Linked DNA regions of Homo sapiens: regions 2, 3, 4 and 5 are each linked to region 1. The links are contacts of gene promoters, found by promoter capture Hi-C in human tissues and cell types (Jung and others, 2019). All regions are on one chromosome and are shown on one strand. Each heading gives the region's core, a stretch centred on a gene start or on the middle of the fragment in contact. The rest is flanking DNA. Distances are from core to core; before and after follow the strand shown.

Evidence for each region. Contacts are between HindIII fragments. The study calls those that stand out against the background at their distance.
Region 2: a fragment that was not itself captured here is called in contact with the fragment with the promoter of DNAJB12 in region 1 in 1 of the 25 tissues and cell types used here (dorsolateral prefrontal cortex).
Region 3: a contact is called between the fragment with the promoter of P4HA1 here and the fragment with the promoter of DNAJB12 in region 1, in 1 of the 25 tissues and cell types used here (dorsolateral prefrontal cortex).
Region 4: a fragment that was not itself captured here is called in contact with the fragment with the promoter of DNAJB12 in region 1 in 1 of the 25 tissues and cell types used here (aorta).
Region 5: a contact is called between the fragment with the promoter of PLA2G12B here and the fragment with the promoter of DNAJB12 in region 1, in 1 of the 25 tissues and cell types used here (mesendoderm cells).

Annotation. Positions count from the first base shown.
Region 1 is chr10:72,353,456-72,356,305 of GRCh38, reverse strand. DNAJB12 (DnaJ heat shock protein family (Hsp40) member B12) reads left to right here and starts at 1,387. Exons shown (of 9, transcript NM_017626.7): 1 at 1,387-1,541. The coding sequence starts at 1,409. RefSeq lists enhancers at 1,161-1,410, 1,801-1,930. The HindIII fragment of the contact is 25,714 bases long and covers 1-2,850 here.
Region 2 is chr10:73,135,791-73,138,640 of GRCh38, reverse strand. ECD (ecdysoneless cell cycle regulator) reads left to right here. Exons shown (of 14, transcript NM_007265.3): 12 at 571-638; 13 at 1,723-1,937. Among named protein-coding and RNA genes, the nearest start is that of SNORA11F, 11 kb to the right of the region's middle. The HindIII fragment of the contact is 3,377 bases long and covers 1-2,850 here.
Region 3 is chr10:73,095,430-73,098,279 of GRCh38, reverse strand. It overlaps P4HA1 (prolyl 4-hydroxylase subunit alpha 1), which reads left to right and starts at 1,414. Exons shown (of 15, transcript NM_001017962.3): 1 at 1,414-1,514. RefSeq lists enhancers at 964-1,033, 1,278-2,033 and a silencer at 1,064-1,393. The HindIII fragment of the contact is 7,006 bases long and covers 1-2,850 here.
Region 4 is chr10:73,031,694-73,034,543 of GRCh38, reverse strand. All of the region lies in intron 9 of P4HA1 (prolyl 4-hydroxylase subunit alpha 1), which reads left to right. Among named protein-coding and RNA genes, the nearest start is that of P4HA1, 64 kb to the left of the region's middle. The HindIII fragment of the contact is 5,362 bases long and covers 1-2,850 here.
Region 5 is chr10:72,953,405-72,956,254 of GRCh38, reverse strand. It overlaps PLA2G12B (phospholipase A2 group XIIB), which reads left to right and starts at 1,449. Exons shown (of 4, transcript NM_032562.5): 1 at 1,449-1,780. The coding sequence starts at 1,570. The HindIII fragment of the contact is 10,065 bases long and covers 1-2,850 here.

The DNA of each region.
Region 1 (2,850 bases), core at 138-2,637:
ACTCACCACCTCCGCCATCACCCTTATCCAAGTTACCATTAATTTTCACCTGTATTATAATAGTAGCTTCCTGACTCTCATCCGGATTACTGTAGTAGCATCTTACCAAATCCTGCCTGAAAGGCCAAGCAATGTAAGGGCTGACAGATGACTCGGGGATTCGGCAACGTGGAGGTCACTGGCAACCTTCACAAGATTGCTTTCACTGGAGTGATAGCCCTCGAAGAACGGGATAATGATAGAACTGGATTACACTCTGTAGTAGAATCTTTTTTTTTTCTTCTTTTTTTTTAGATGGCGTTTCACTCTTGTTGCCCAGGCTGGAGTGCAATGGTGTGATCTTGGCTCACCGCAACCTCCACCTCCCAGGTTCAAGCGATTCTCCCGCCTCAGCCTCCCGAGTAGGTGGGATTACAGGCCATGTGCCACCATGCCCGGCTAATTTTGTATTTTTAGTAGAGACGGGGTTTCTCCATGTTGGTCAGGCTGGTCTCGAACTCCTGACCTCAAGTGATCCGCCCGCCTCGGCCTCTCAAAGTGCTGGGATTACAGGCGTGAGCCACCGCGCCCAGCCTGTAGTAGAATCTTTACGCTCCCTAGAATGTATTCGCCTTCCTGATCTGTTATAACTCACCAAGAGAATTCCCTTTTCAGAGCCTTTGCACTTGCTGTTCCTTCGGCCTGACCACCCTTCCTCCAGACAGTCACATCTACCTGTTATCGTTCCTGAATTCTGGTACCTGTTAATGACAGCTTCTGAGAGGTTTCTTTTATCGCGCTATTTAAAATAGCGCCTCCCACTCTCTATCCCTGTGTTTTCCATAATTTTTCTTCAGAGCTTTTATCACTATCTGAATCTATCTGGAGCTCCCCCAGCCTACACACACTGGAATGTAAGCTCCATGAGAGCAGGAGCTTTGTTTTGCTCACCCCTGTATCCCCATCATAAAACCATGCCTCACAAACAGTGGGCACTCAATATCTGTTCAGTGAATAAATAACCTTTGTCTGAAACGTATGTAGTTACATTACGTATATAGATCACCACTTAGTAAACCGTCTGGGAATAACAGGCACTCCGAAGGCCCCAGTCTCATCCCGACGGCTACCACGTGACCTTCCTGAGCTTGGGTTTCCTCCTCCGGAAGATTAGAGGGTTGGCGCATACTCAACTCTAAGACCTCCGGAACATGGAATCTGGGCGTGCACCATTATTGACACCTACACCAGCCGTCCCTTTCTTAGAAGACATACGGTAGCACTTCCACCCTCGCTCAAAACTCGGGAAAGGAGGGGCGGAGGGTGGATGTCATCACTCCGCGCCCGGCTGCCCGCGACGCGCCGGCGGGTGGCGCAGCCCTTCGCTCGCCCGGCCTCCCCCTCCCTGGTTCCGCGTTCTGGTTCCGCCATGGAATCCAACAAGGATGAAGCTGAGCGCTGTATCAGCATCGCCCTCAAGGCCATCCAGAGCAACCAGCCCGACCGGGCGCTCCGCTTCCTGGAGAAGGCACAGCGGCTGTATCCGACGCCGCGAGTTCGCGGTGAGTGTGAGGTGCCGGAGAGACTGGGGACATTAGAACTGATGGGGGGAACACGGGAACGGACCGACGGGAGCAGTTGGGGGAGGGGGAGGGGTGGCGAGGCGCGGCTACGCCTGCGCACTGAGGCGCGCGGTGGCTGCTGGGAGGCGTAGTTTTTCCCTCTTGTTCCTCTGCGGGATGCGAGCCGTCTGGAGACTCGGGCGGCCGGGACTTCAGCTTTCGGGGTGCTGGCGGAGCCCGCTGGGGTTTGAGGTCTCCGAGAATGAAACGCGCTGGCAGCCGGGACGAAGGGAACTTACCTGGAAGTGAACTCGAACTACTTTTCCCAAGGGGCCGTTCGGTAGCCCAGGCCAGTCGCCGGCCTGGGAAATATTACAGTTCAGGAAAATAAACATAACTCCTTTAAGGGAGAGAATGGGCGCTAGACAGGGAGACATTTCTGTTCTTCGGGCGCCAGGGAAAGGCGCTTCCGTATCTTCACTCCCTCTCACCTCTCGGGCTGAGGGTCAGGGACCACTCTCCCAAAATGCAAGCCGGCCTTTGCACCCACCCCAGTCCGCCGCCTCGGACTGTCCTGAAGCCGGGCCCCTCACTCCTCCCGATGATGAGATTCGGAGCGGGTGGCCTGGTGGGAGGTGCTGACCTCAGCCACCGCCAGTCCTCCATCGCCCGCAAGAGTCCAGCGGCGGTCAGCCATGTGGACGCCGAGGCTGCTGAGTTGCCCTGGACAGGAGCCTCCTGAGCCAGGGAGGGAAGAGTGAAGCTGGCTTTACAACTCATCACCTCGCTTCACCCGGGAACCCTTTCTTTTTTCTTTAACCTAAGTTTTCCAAGGAGTTTTTCTTAATCCACGCTAGAGGGGAGAGAGACACCGGGTGGTGCTTGTGATCACCACTCAGTAAACCGTCTGGGAATAACAGGCACTCCGAAGGGCCCAGTCTCATCCTGACGGCTACCACGTGACCTTCCTGAGCTTGGGTTTCCTCCTCGGGAAGATTAGAGGGTTGGCGCAGATAATGTGATTGGCAATAATACCCATAGGGCTTTGCAGTTTAGGAAGCTCCTTCACCTGTGCCTTCTCACTTGAGCCTGCCAGTCAGGGATGCAGAGCAAAGATCATTATCTTTATTCTATGGGTGAGGAAAATCTCTGAGGTAAGGGATGCCCAGGATGACACAGCTAGAAAGTAAAATGTTCTGTGACTCTGTAAATGTTTATGAAGGAAAAGAAATGAAATTGAGGAACAGCAGTCAGCCTCCTAACCGGCCCTGCCCGCCTGATGAGATTGAGAAAGCGGAACGCTGGTGGA
Region 2 (2,850 bases), core at 191-2,690, 780 kb before region 1:
GAGCTGGGATCGTGCCACTGCACCGCAGCCTGGGTGACAGAGCAAGACTCCGTCTCAAAAAAAAAACAAAACAAAAAAAACTGTTACTTGTGTATCAAATATATCATTATTAGTGTTGATGCTCTTGAACCTGATGAAAGATATAAATTTATATTTGGTATTCTCTCTTTAAGAAAGCAGGGATAAGGGAAGATATGTTCTTGTTTATTTTTTAAGCTTTAGTTCTTAAAAGAACAGGCTTTATTTAAATTAACTCAAATAAATAATGGTTTTGCTAATGCTAGATATCTTATTGGGGCTAGAGAGTGGGTAGGTCCCTAAATCAGCATAAGCTAAATGTACATAAACAAGATGCAATTTTTACTTTTCATTTATCAGACTTTCCCATTTCTGTTGTCCTGCAAGGCCAGTAAACTCAAGGATTTTTAAAACTTAAACTACAACTTTTCTTGCTGTGCCTCCTTAGAAATTCTATCTTTGGTAGCTTTCCTAAGAATGGCACCACTTTAGAAAAGTTTCAAAGAGTTGTATTTAGAATAAATTAATTGTCTTTGTCCTTTAATATTGCAGAGAACCTTCTGAGGCTCCAATCACTTTTGATGCAGATTCTTTTCTTAATTATTTTGATAAGATTTTAGGTAAGTAGTGGTGTGATGTTGACTTTCATTTTGAAACTGTTAGTAGTATGGCTGTTGCTAGAGCATTGGTTTATGAGATATCTCAGAAGCCAAAATGTTTGCTTTCTCTTCCTGGTTTGAGTTGCTTTCAACCATGAATTACTACCCATGAATAATTTTGTAGAGGCTGCCTAGCTTAGTGTTTGACATATATAGTAGCTGCTCATTAATTTTTTTTTTTTTTTTTTGAGACAGTGTCTCGCTCTGTTGCCCAGGCTGGAGTGCAGTGGCACGATCTCGGCTCACTGCAAGCTCCGCCTCCTGGGTTCATGCCATTCTTCTGCCTCAGCCTCCTGAGTAACTGGGACTACAGGCGCCTGCCACCACACCCAGCTAATTTTTTTGTATTTTTAGTAGAGACGGGGTTTCACCGTGTTAGCCAGGATGGTCTCGATCTCCTGACCTCATGATCCGCCCATCTCAGCCTACCAAAGTGCTGGGATTACAGGCGTGAGCCACCGTGCCCGGCCTCATTAAATATTTGAGAGTGACTGAATGCTGTGTGTTTAAATAGGGTTTTACCTTGGCTCCCATATTATATTGTTCTTTTTTGGAATTACTGTACTTACAAATCAGTAATAAAAAGATAACTCAAAAAATAATTATAATATGTATATATGTACAGAACTGCAGAGAGAAAGATTGGGATACCCGGAAACTGCTAAAAGATGCTTACCTCTGGGGAGAGAGTGAGATTGGAGACAATACTTGTATGGCTTGAATGTTTACATCAAAATGTATTCATTTATTAGGTATTTTTAAAAATTTTTTAAGAAAAATATTTTAATTAATTGAATTCACTTTTTTTTAAGCTAAATCTTTTGATTCAGCTTGTACGCTTTTCCACAACATTAAATGCACACATATCTGCCAGCATTACCATTTGTAGAAGGGATTTTTGTGAAGTAGACTGACTGTGTGTATTAGTCTTTTTCTGTGGGTAACATTCTAATTATTTTGAGATGTGTAGTAACTAAATAATAATAATAATAATAATAATAATAATAATTACTAAGTGGCTCTTTCTTTCTTGGGATCTGTGTAGGGCCAAGGCCTAATGAGTCAGATTCTGATGATCTGGATGATGAAGACTTTGAATGTTTAGATAGTGATGATGACTTGGACTTTGAAACACACGAACCTGGCGAAGAGGCTTCCCTGAAAGGAACACTTGATAATCTCAAGTCATACATGGCCCAGATGGACCAGGAACTAGCACACACCTGCATCAGCAAAAGTTTCACCACTAGGAACCAAGTGGTATGTGTGTTTTTAACCTCTTTCTCTTTCTGAGTCTAGTATGTCAGATAGCTAAAACCATATTTTATCATAGTTTTTCTTTTTTTGGTGTGTGAGATTTGAAATAAATAAGAATGTTAATTGTTTTCCTAACTCTGGTAGGATAAAGGATCATAGACTTAATTTTCCAAAACATAAGCTTCATTATATTACTTATTCTACGTTATCTATCAGGATTTAAAATAAAAAGTCATATAATATGCTCAAATTAGAATGCGATTGTACACTACTACTTCTTAAATACATTTTTTTTCAAAAGTAGTTTAAAAAAACTACAGCTTAAATGGATTTTAAAAAAGAGAGGGCACATGTTCTCAAGACCTTTTGAGACTATGCCTTGGGCCACAGTGGATTAAAACAAAATAACATAAGTAAATAAACAGGATCTTAAACATTCAAATAACTTTCCAGTTTTAACAGTTTATTTTGTATTTTTCCCTAATTTAGAGCCAAATTTAGGATTCACCTTCCGTTTATGTTTTCATCCTAGTTTTTAATGCCACCACTGTCTAATCCTAAACAGAGGTATTATGGAAAGAGCAAGAACCCTGGAGTCTTATGGGTTAGGGTTTGAAGTCTAGCTCAGCTGTCCACTGTGAATGTATCTATAAACCAGTAATCCTCATATCATAAAATTAACATGAGAACCAAATTAGACAGCAGTAAAACCTACAATAGGCCTTTAATTAATGTTAATTCTCCTTGCTTTGATCATCTAAACCACTTTTAAAACTATAGTCACTTCCAGAATTGTCAAAATCTAGTAGAAACCATACATTAGATTTATCTAAAGCAGTATTTCTTAAATTTTAATGCGAATATAAACCAAAAGATCATGTTACAACATAGATTCTGATTAAGTAGGCCTGGGATG
Region 3 (2,850 bases), core at 165-2,664, 740 kb before region 1:
ATATTTTTAATGAAAAATAACTATTTTCCAAAGCAAAATAATTTAGTGAGAAGAGTGGCATTATTTTACATTTCTGCAAATCTCTTCAGTGTCTGGGCTAATAGAAGATTCTCATATCTGTGTCTGCGTTCCATCTGTATCACAGGCATGTAGTCTCTGGAAGACCTCACTGTATTGTTATTAGAGTGAAAAAGGCAGTAAGTCTTAGTATGAAAATAAAGTCTTAGTATGAAAATAATTTTGACCTTATGGATTCCCTGACTACGCTTTCAGAACCATTGATTTAGACATCATTATATCTACTTTTTAGTTGCCTAGTGCTCCCAGAGTACCCTCTCTCTCTTTCTGTAGCTATATAATCACTCACCTCCTGCGTAAGTCAAATGTTAATTATTGCTATACTTTTTAGCATACATGGAAAACTTTAGAAACCACAATTCTTAATGAATAACAAGTCTTAGCAACTCATTTTTCTCTTTAACTGACAAGGAAAAAATTATCTTCTTCATTGTATTCTCCCTCATAGTACAGGGAGATATAAAGAAACCCTTGGTTTGGGGTTACTTTATAACTAAGGCAAATGTTAGACTAAGATCAAACGCAACATTGGGTGCCTTATATAAATTAATGTTACTGGAGAATCTAATATTTACTAAGTCATTTCTGTGTGTGAGGCATGTGTTAAGTGCTTTACATACATTATCTCATTTTATTCTCACAAGAATCTTACAAGATGGGTAGTACCGTCATTTCTATTTTACAGATGAGTAAACGGATACGGAGAGGTTGTTAATGCCTAGTGTTACACACAGGATTGAGGCAGGATTTGAATTGAGATAACCTGACCCTGGAGCTCTTAGTCTATTATCTACTGATAAGGTATAAAGGTAGGAGATAGAGCACGATTAGTATAAAATGAGTGCTGAGATGTGAGAGGAACAAGACAGCTGAGATACCAAGACTGAATCTCTATTATTTTCCACCCTAGAAAAATTCTGCTTTATTTTCTACACTCCCACGTTCCTCTTCTCATTTTTAAGATACTTTATTGCCGGCGGCCTCGTCGCTTAGGCCTGACGCGGACCCTGAAATCAAGGAGGCAAACTGAACAGGAGCGGGGGAAACCCCGTGGTAACCACGGTAACGGTGGCGGGGCGAGAACCCTGCGCAGGCGCGTTACATCCCACTCCCGCTTACCCACACCACGGCGGCCGGTCCCAGCCACTCCTCTCGGCCTCAGACTCCACGGGCCGGCCACGGGTGGGGGCAGCAGGGAGGCACGGGCTTGGCGCCTGCGCAGTCGCCGGGGCGCTGGTGTGATCGAGCTCACGTAGCGAGGGCTGCAGTCGCCTCCTCCCTGGCGCTGCCATCGCGGCCTAGAGGTTATAAAAGGGCTAACGGGCTCCCTCTGCTGCCCAGTCGCGCCGCCAGCGGGCTGAGGGTAGGAAGTAGCCGCTCCGAGTGGAGGCGACTGGGGGCTGAAGAGCGCGCCGCCCTCTCGTCCCACTTTCCAGGTGAGACGCTCCCTCGATCCCGGAGACTGAGGCCACTGGGCAGCCGTGGACCTTCTCGGACGGCTGCGGCGATCCATTCCTTCCCGCTGTGGTGGTACTTCTGGGGCGGGGGTTCCCCAGGTTACCACAGCAGCCTCGGTTCCTTCCCCTCGGGAGACTCGGCCCCTCTCCCTGCGCCACGCGACTCCCGGCGCCCGCGCTCCTTCGTGCCCCCCTTCCCACCTCTGTCCCTAGTGCGCCTCGGACCGCTGGGGCTGCTGCAGCCTCAGTCCCCGCCCTAGGGACCAGGACTTTCTTGAATTTTCCTTCCCGGGGAGGAATCACTCTGTTGCTTTTTTTTTTTTCCAAGTTCCCCTGCACCTGGTCCTCCCTAACGAGGCTAAGGGGAACGCAAGCGCGGGGCGTGGGCTTTTGGCCGCCACAGCCGCAGATGGTTCGCATGTGGCGGTGGAGAGCGGATTTTAAGGCTTGGAGCTGGATCCGCAGCGCGCCAGGCATTTTTGCCCTATCGAAAGTCGCCGGGAGCTGGGGGGACCTCCCCAGAAAGTTCCGGCTGAACTCATCTGTTGCGCGCAGCGGTGCAGCATTAGCTGCCAGACGTAGCCCGGGGCGCCGAGCTTTCTGCTCGTAGCGCCGAGGAAGTAGGCTCTCAGGTCACCTCGTCGTCAGGGAAGCTTCCTTCCCTCTTCTTCCCCATAACTTTTTTTAAAAAGAGACAAGAGCTCTTCTCTCAATCTCTGTCTCTCTGTCTCTCTCTGCCGAGAATTTGCAGCTTTTAAAAGTCCACATCAGTCCAACAAATTCCATGGTTGTGTGAGGATTTTGAGTTGGATTACATGGCTGGCCCCCGGATGTATGTTTCAATGGGGAGGAAGGATGGTATGATAACTGTGAGACTCTTTCTCCTAAATAATCGACTCTGTTACATACAAATTCAATGTTTAGACACTAACATCTTACGCGTTCCGGATAGAGTGAAGACTCTTGGAATTTTGCACTGTTTTCTTTAAGAAAGGGTTGAAGAAGCAGCTAGATCCTCTTTTAGGAATTGATCTAAAAGGCCAAAGAGACTTGCCAATTTCCACTTAACTGTTTCTGGTTTCTCCGAGAGCAGTGGTTCTCGGACTTTCGCTTGGAATGCACTCGGAGGGGATGAAATAGCCACTACGTGAAGGGGGGAGGGGCAAAGACGTGGCAGCAGCGTTCTTTCATCAATTTTTTACTCTTTTTTTTTTTTTTTTTTAAAGTTCTGGTTAGAAACGTATTTCCCCTTTTAGGTTTAGACGTAGCTTATGAATGAGGCTAGTCTTTTCCTAAAATAATCAGATGAAGAATT
Region 4 (2,850 bases), core at 154-2,653, 680 kb before region 1:
ATTATATGATTCTTCTTACAGGAGATACCTAGAATAGGCAAATCCATACAGACAGAACGTAGAATAGAGGATTACCAGGGGTTGTGAGGAGGGAGAGATGGGAGTTGTTGTTCAGTGGGTACAGTTTTCTGTTTGGTTTTGATGAAAAAGTTCTGGAAATGGATAGTGCTGATGGTTGTAAGGTATTGTAAATGTACTTAACACCAGTGAATTGTACACTTAATTAAAATGGTAAAATTGCTGTTATATATATTTTACCATAATTTAAAAAATAGTCTAAATGGCTAATTTTATGTTACATGTATTTTACCACAAATTTTTATTTTTTTAGAGATAGGTTCTCATTCTGGGGCCCAGGCTGGAGTGCAGTGGTGTGATTGTAGCTCCCTGCATCCTTGAACTCCTGGGCTTAAGTAATCCTTCCGCTTCAGCCTTATGAGTAGCTAGGACTACACAGGCACACGCTACCATGCCTGGCTAATTTTTAAACTTTTTTTGTGGAGACAGGGTCTTGCTAGGTTGCCGAGACTGGTCTTGAACTCAAGTGATTTTCCTGCCTTGGCTTCCCAAAGTGCTGGGATTACAGATTTGAGACACTGTGCCCATCCTGTTTAACTTTCCTGATGTTATTCTTTGAAGCATAAAAGGTTTTTATTTGGATAATGTCCCATTTATTTATTCCTTTTGTTGCCTGTACTTTTGATGTCATAGCTAAACCATTGCTTCGTCCAACGTCACAAAGATTTGCTCCTGTGTTTTCTTCCCACAGTTTTTATAATTTTAGCTTTTACATTTAGGTCTTTGATCCATCTTGAGTAATTCGTTTTAATATAATGTGAAGCAGAGGTCCAGCTTCTTTCTTTGCATGTAGATAACCAGTGTCCCATGACCATTTGTGGAATGTAACAAGCATTTCTTACTTTTGCAGTTTTAAAGGAGTAAAGTGAAAGACTGGAGTGGTAATTTGCTAGAATGGCTAAAGTGAAGGTATTTTTCTTGGTAGCAGGAGACTTCAATAAGCAAGCATTGACAAGGAGGAGATTAAAGATAAAAGGGAGGCAATAACTGCTGGAGTAAGGCATCTAGAGTTAGAAAGCATAGAATCAAAAGCATAGATAGAAAGTCTGCCTCTATAAGGCTGAAGGACGATGATTCTACCAAAGTACAAGAGGAAAAGATAAGACTAGATATTTAAAAGTTGTTGGTAGCAGGGAGGGAAGTTGAAGATATCAGAAGACACGTTCTCTGTGGGTGATAGGTTCCAGGATGGAATAGGAACAGTTTGTTCATGAGGCATTTAGTTCGAAGCTTTATTAGAATGCTTTCCAATTTAGCATTGCAATTACCTGTAAAAATCAAGTCAGTAGTTGGTTGGTTGCTTATAAAGTTCAGACATCCATCAAATTGTGCTAGGCAGGAAAGACAGGTACATTGACATATACCAGATTAGTTCTACCAGGAACTTGGGCAGAATTAGAAGAAAAAAATTCTTAATATACTTAATCAGCTATATTCTTTACAACAATAACACTTTGATTCTTCCCATTTTTGCTACACTGAGGAATTCTGTAATACTCAGCCAGTCCCAAAAAATTTGCAAGATATCACCAAGCAAATAATTTTAGTAATATAGGATAAATCTAAGAATCCACCCTGTTTGTCATGTTAGTTTCATGTTGGTAATGATTAGTAAAAACTTCTTTCTTCTCCATGTCTTTCTCTTGTTAAAGAAAAACCCACACACTCTCTCTTGCTCTCTCTCTTACGCTTGCTCGCTTCCTTTGTCTGTCTGTGGAAGCTTTGGCTTCGTCTGGCAGCGGGAGAGGTAAAGGAAAGCTTCTCTAAAGAAGTGGTAACTAAGGTGATATCCAGAGTCTTAATTTTGCAAAGTGAAAAAGAATATTCTGGGCAGAGAGAAGAGCATACGCACTAGCCTTAGGCCTAGAGGAAATACGTTCTTGAGGAAATGTTGCTGCTGTCCTGAGAGGGAGGCAGAATATAGTGTTGGAGGCTGTAAATTAGGAGACCAAGAAAAAGCAGCCTGAGATACTAGAGGAATTCCTGGAGAATGAGTGTTTGAGAGAGTTTCCAAAAGGATGAGTATTGTCACAAATGTTACCAAAGGAACAAATACAATGAGAATTGAAAAATGTCATTAGATTTAGAAGCACAATAGGGCTGTGGGTAAGATTAGCAAGAGCAATTTTGAGGGAGTGATATAAGTGACTAAAGCTAGATTACAGTGGGTTCAGAGATTAGGAATCTGACAAAGTTAGCTTGAAGAGGGAAAAGAAAGATTGGTAACTGGAGGGATGTACAGATTTGGGGAAATCATTTTTAATTGTAAAGGCGTTTATTTGCTCTATGAAGTAGGAAATACATTATCTACTGAGTGAAGGGAGAGGCTGAAGTGAGTTAGGGTACAGAGTGGAAGAGGAAGTAAAGTGAAGAGCCCATTTGAAGTTGGTATTCATGAATTTTTAGTGGAACATATCTGCCCTATTTCATGACTTTCTCCAGTAGGGTTTGGTGACAGAGATATACGCTTAGATAAAAGAGATTGATCCAGGATTGTTTTTGCCAGACAGTTGAGTTTAGGCGTTTAGAAAGAATGTTAAAATGATGAACTATGGAATCAAAGCTCAGTGAGAGGAGAAGTGAAGAAAGCGAAGGACTGATTGACTGCTTAAAAGCATATGTGAAAAAGGGATATAGCTGAATTTGGGAGTACCATTTAAAATTGAGATATAGTTCCCGTATCATAAAATTCACGCTTTTAAAGTATGCATTTCAGTGGTTTTTAGCCTTGTGCAACTATAACCAATGTCTAGTTCCAGAACATTTTTGTCA
Region 5 (2,850 bases), core at 200-2,699, 600 kb before region 1:
GAAACTGGCATGAACATTTGTGCATATGTGCATGTGTATGTGTGTGCCTCTGTGTATGTGCATATGCATGAAAGTGGTTTGAAAAAGTATAGATGCTTTAAAATATTGGGTGGCATTGTTGTGACTATGAATAATTTTTAACCACTGCCCTTCCTGGAGTCTGAGTCTTCAGCCAAACACATTTACTGAAAATGAAGAAATTAATTCATTTAATTCATTATTTTCCATGGGGCTTTCCAGACAAACATTTGAGAAAGGAGCTAAATGATTCATGTGGTCCATAAAGGTATCATTTTTATAGACTGGTGATTATTTTATTATTACTATTTTTTTGAGACAGAGTTTCGCTCTTGTCGCCCATGCTGGAGTGCAATGGCGTGCTCTCGGCTCACTGCAACCTCCGCCTCCTGGGTTCAAGTGATTCTCCTGCCTTAGCCTTCCTAGTAGCTGGGATTACAGGCGGCTGCTACCTTGCCTGGCTAATTTTTGTATTTTTAGTGGAGACGGGGTTTCGCTATGTTGGTCAGGCTGGCCTCAAACTCCTGACCTCAGGTGATCCAAACGCCTCGGCCTCCCAAAATGCTGGGATTACAGGCATGCACCACCATGCCCGGTCCTAGACTAGTGATTTTATAGATGGCATTTCTTCACACGACTAAAAGCAGTCTAAACTGAAAACGATGCCAAAACACTAGACTTCAGTCAACAGTCTTAAAAGCCTACACTCCCAAATAGACTATTTGATAAACCCTCTGACTTCTAAGAAACTCAAAGGAAAAACACCACCAGGAGAGCCGAGTGCCCCCAGAATTGTCCTTGGACCATCTGTAGATCTTGTCTTATGATCCACTTATGCTGAGTGTAAACAGAGATACTGCTGTAAATAGAAGCCAAAATGTCCCTGCACTCAGATGGCTACATCTGGGAGCTCTGCCAAATTAGAGGATTTATGCGTCAGAGCCAGGTGGGTTCCACAGCAGAAGCTGGGGTCTCAAATCTGAACTTCTGCTTAACACACACTTGGTACCTACTCTGACACTATCGTGACCCTTGGTAAAGTGACTATTAATTCCTACCGCTGGGGCTTTCCTGGGCCCTGTACACATCCTCCTGACTCTCCTTGGAGACTATGTAGGTAGCTGGCTGAGGGGTGTGGCTAGGACCTTCGGTCAAGCTCTTCTATCAAGAGGCTGGCCCTGAAGAGCCACACTTGTAACTGATCAACAGCTTAACAAGCTGGTCGGGGTAGAACTCCGAATCCTTCACCGTTCCTGCGTCTCAGAAGCTGGCTAACATCTCCCTCCCTCCAGGGTGGTAGAATCCACTTTGAAATGTTCTCTCTCCCTGGCCCTCCCACTCCCTAACCTTTGCCCTCTTTCTAATTGCCCTGATCTCATCCCAACCTCCATAGCTATGTTTAAAGTCCACCTCTGGGGAACAGACAGATTGAATGTTCCAGATAATCCCTTTCCCAGTCCTGCCTGACATCTGGGTAGGGGGTTTGTCCCTGGAATTCTGGGACACTGGCTGGGGTTTGAGGAGAGAAGCCAGTACCTACCTGGCTGCAGGATGAAGCTGGCCAGTGGCTTCTTGGTTTTGTGGCTCAGCCTTGGGGGTGGCCTGGCTCAGAGCGACACGAGCCCTGACACGGAGGAGTCCTATTCAGACTGGGGCCTTCGGCACCTCCGGGGAAGCTTTGAATCCGTCAATAGCTACTTCGATTCTTTTCTGGAGCTGCTGGGAGGGAAGAATGGAGTCTGTCAGTACAGGTGCCGATATGGTGAGTGTGCGGTTTCTCTTTCTGTAAAAACTGTTGCTGGTGGACCCATGGACAGCCCCAGAGAGGTCACGATCTGTCTTGCACTTTTTCCTGTTATCCACTTAGAGCTGCCAGATTTAGCAGATAAAAATGTAGGACACCCAGTGAAATGTGAAATCCAAATAAACAACAAATAAGTCATTAGTATAAGTATGTCCAGTGAAATATCTGGGACATACTTATCCTGACAAATTCTTCGTTGTTTATCTCAAACTCACATTTCACTGAGCTTCCTGTATTGTATCTGGGAAACCTTCCCTGGGCCATTTTAATGAGTTTGTTGTGAGGCAGTTCTTAGGAAAAAAGGGTACCTGGGGTGGGAAGAAGGAGGGTGGGTATGAGAGGCCTCTGTGAGGAGTTCCCAGGGATGAAAACTGAAGCCGAACATTCAGAGAAAAATCTGCCATGGGGCAAAACCACCTCCTCAGCTGCTCTGTGCTCAGCTTGGAAACAAATTCTCCCTTCCCCCTGCTGCAGTTCACACCGTCCTCCCAGCTCTCAGTCCCTGACTGGCATCAATTTGCTGGACTTTCTCAAGGGAGCTGTCCCTGCCTGCAGCCTCGGCAACGACAGGCATGCTGTGGAGAGGAAGGGTTCGTGGCTCACCAGGGATCCCGGGGCTGTCCCCTGGACTTGGCGCCAGATGCAGATTTGTGAGCTGGCAGGAGCACTTCCCCTACCTTGCCTGAATATGGCTGGGGGTACACAGATATAAGGTGCACACCTGGCTGCCGGCACAGAGCCCCTGGTCCCAGGGGCCCTGGAAGTTAATGTAAGGGGAGCAAAATGTGGAGCCCCAGGCCTTGAAGCTGGGTGGCATCGTGTAATTGCCAATGCGCATGAAAACGTTTTCCAAAGCATGCACAGTCTCAGGTCTCAGGTAGCATTAGTTTTATGGTTTAATTTATCAACTATCTCATCAAGGGATTAGAAATGAAAATGGTGAGTCAATTTAGCCTAACAGGAAAACACATTTGAGAAATATTTTCTCCAAATACTCAACAGAGAAAAAGTCAGCTTTGAAGAGATGC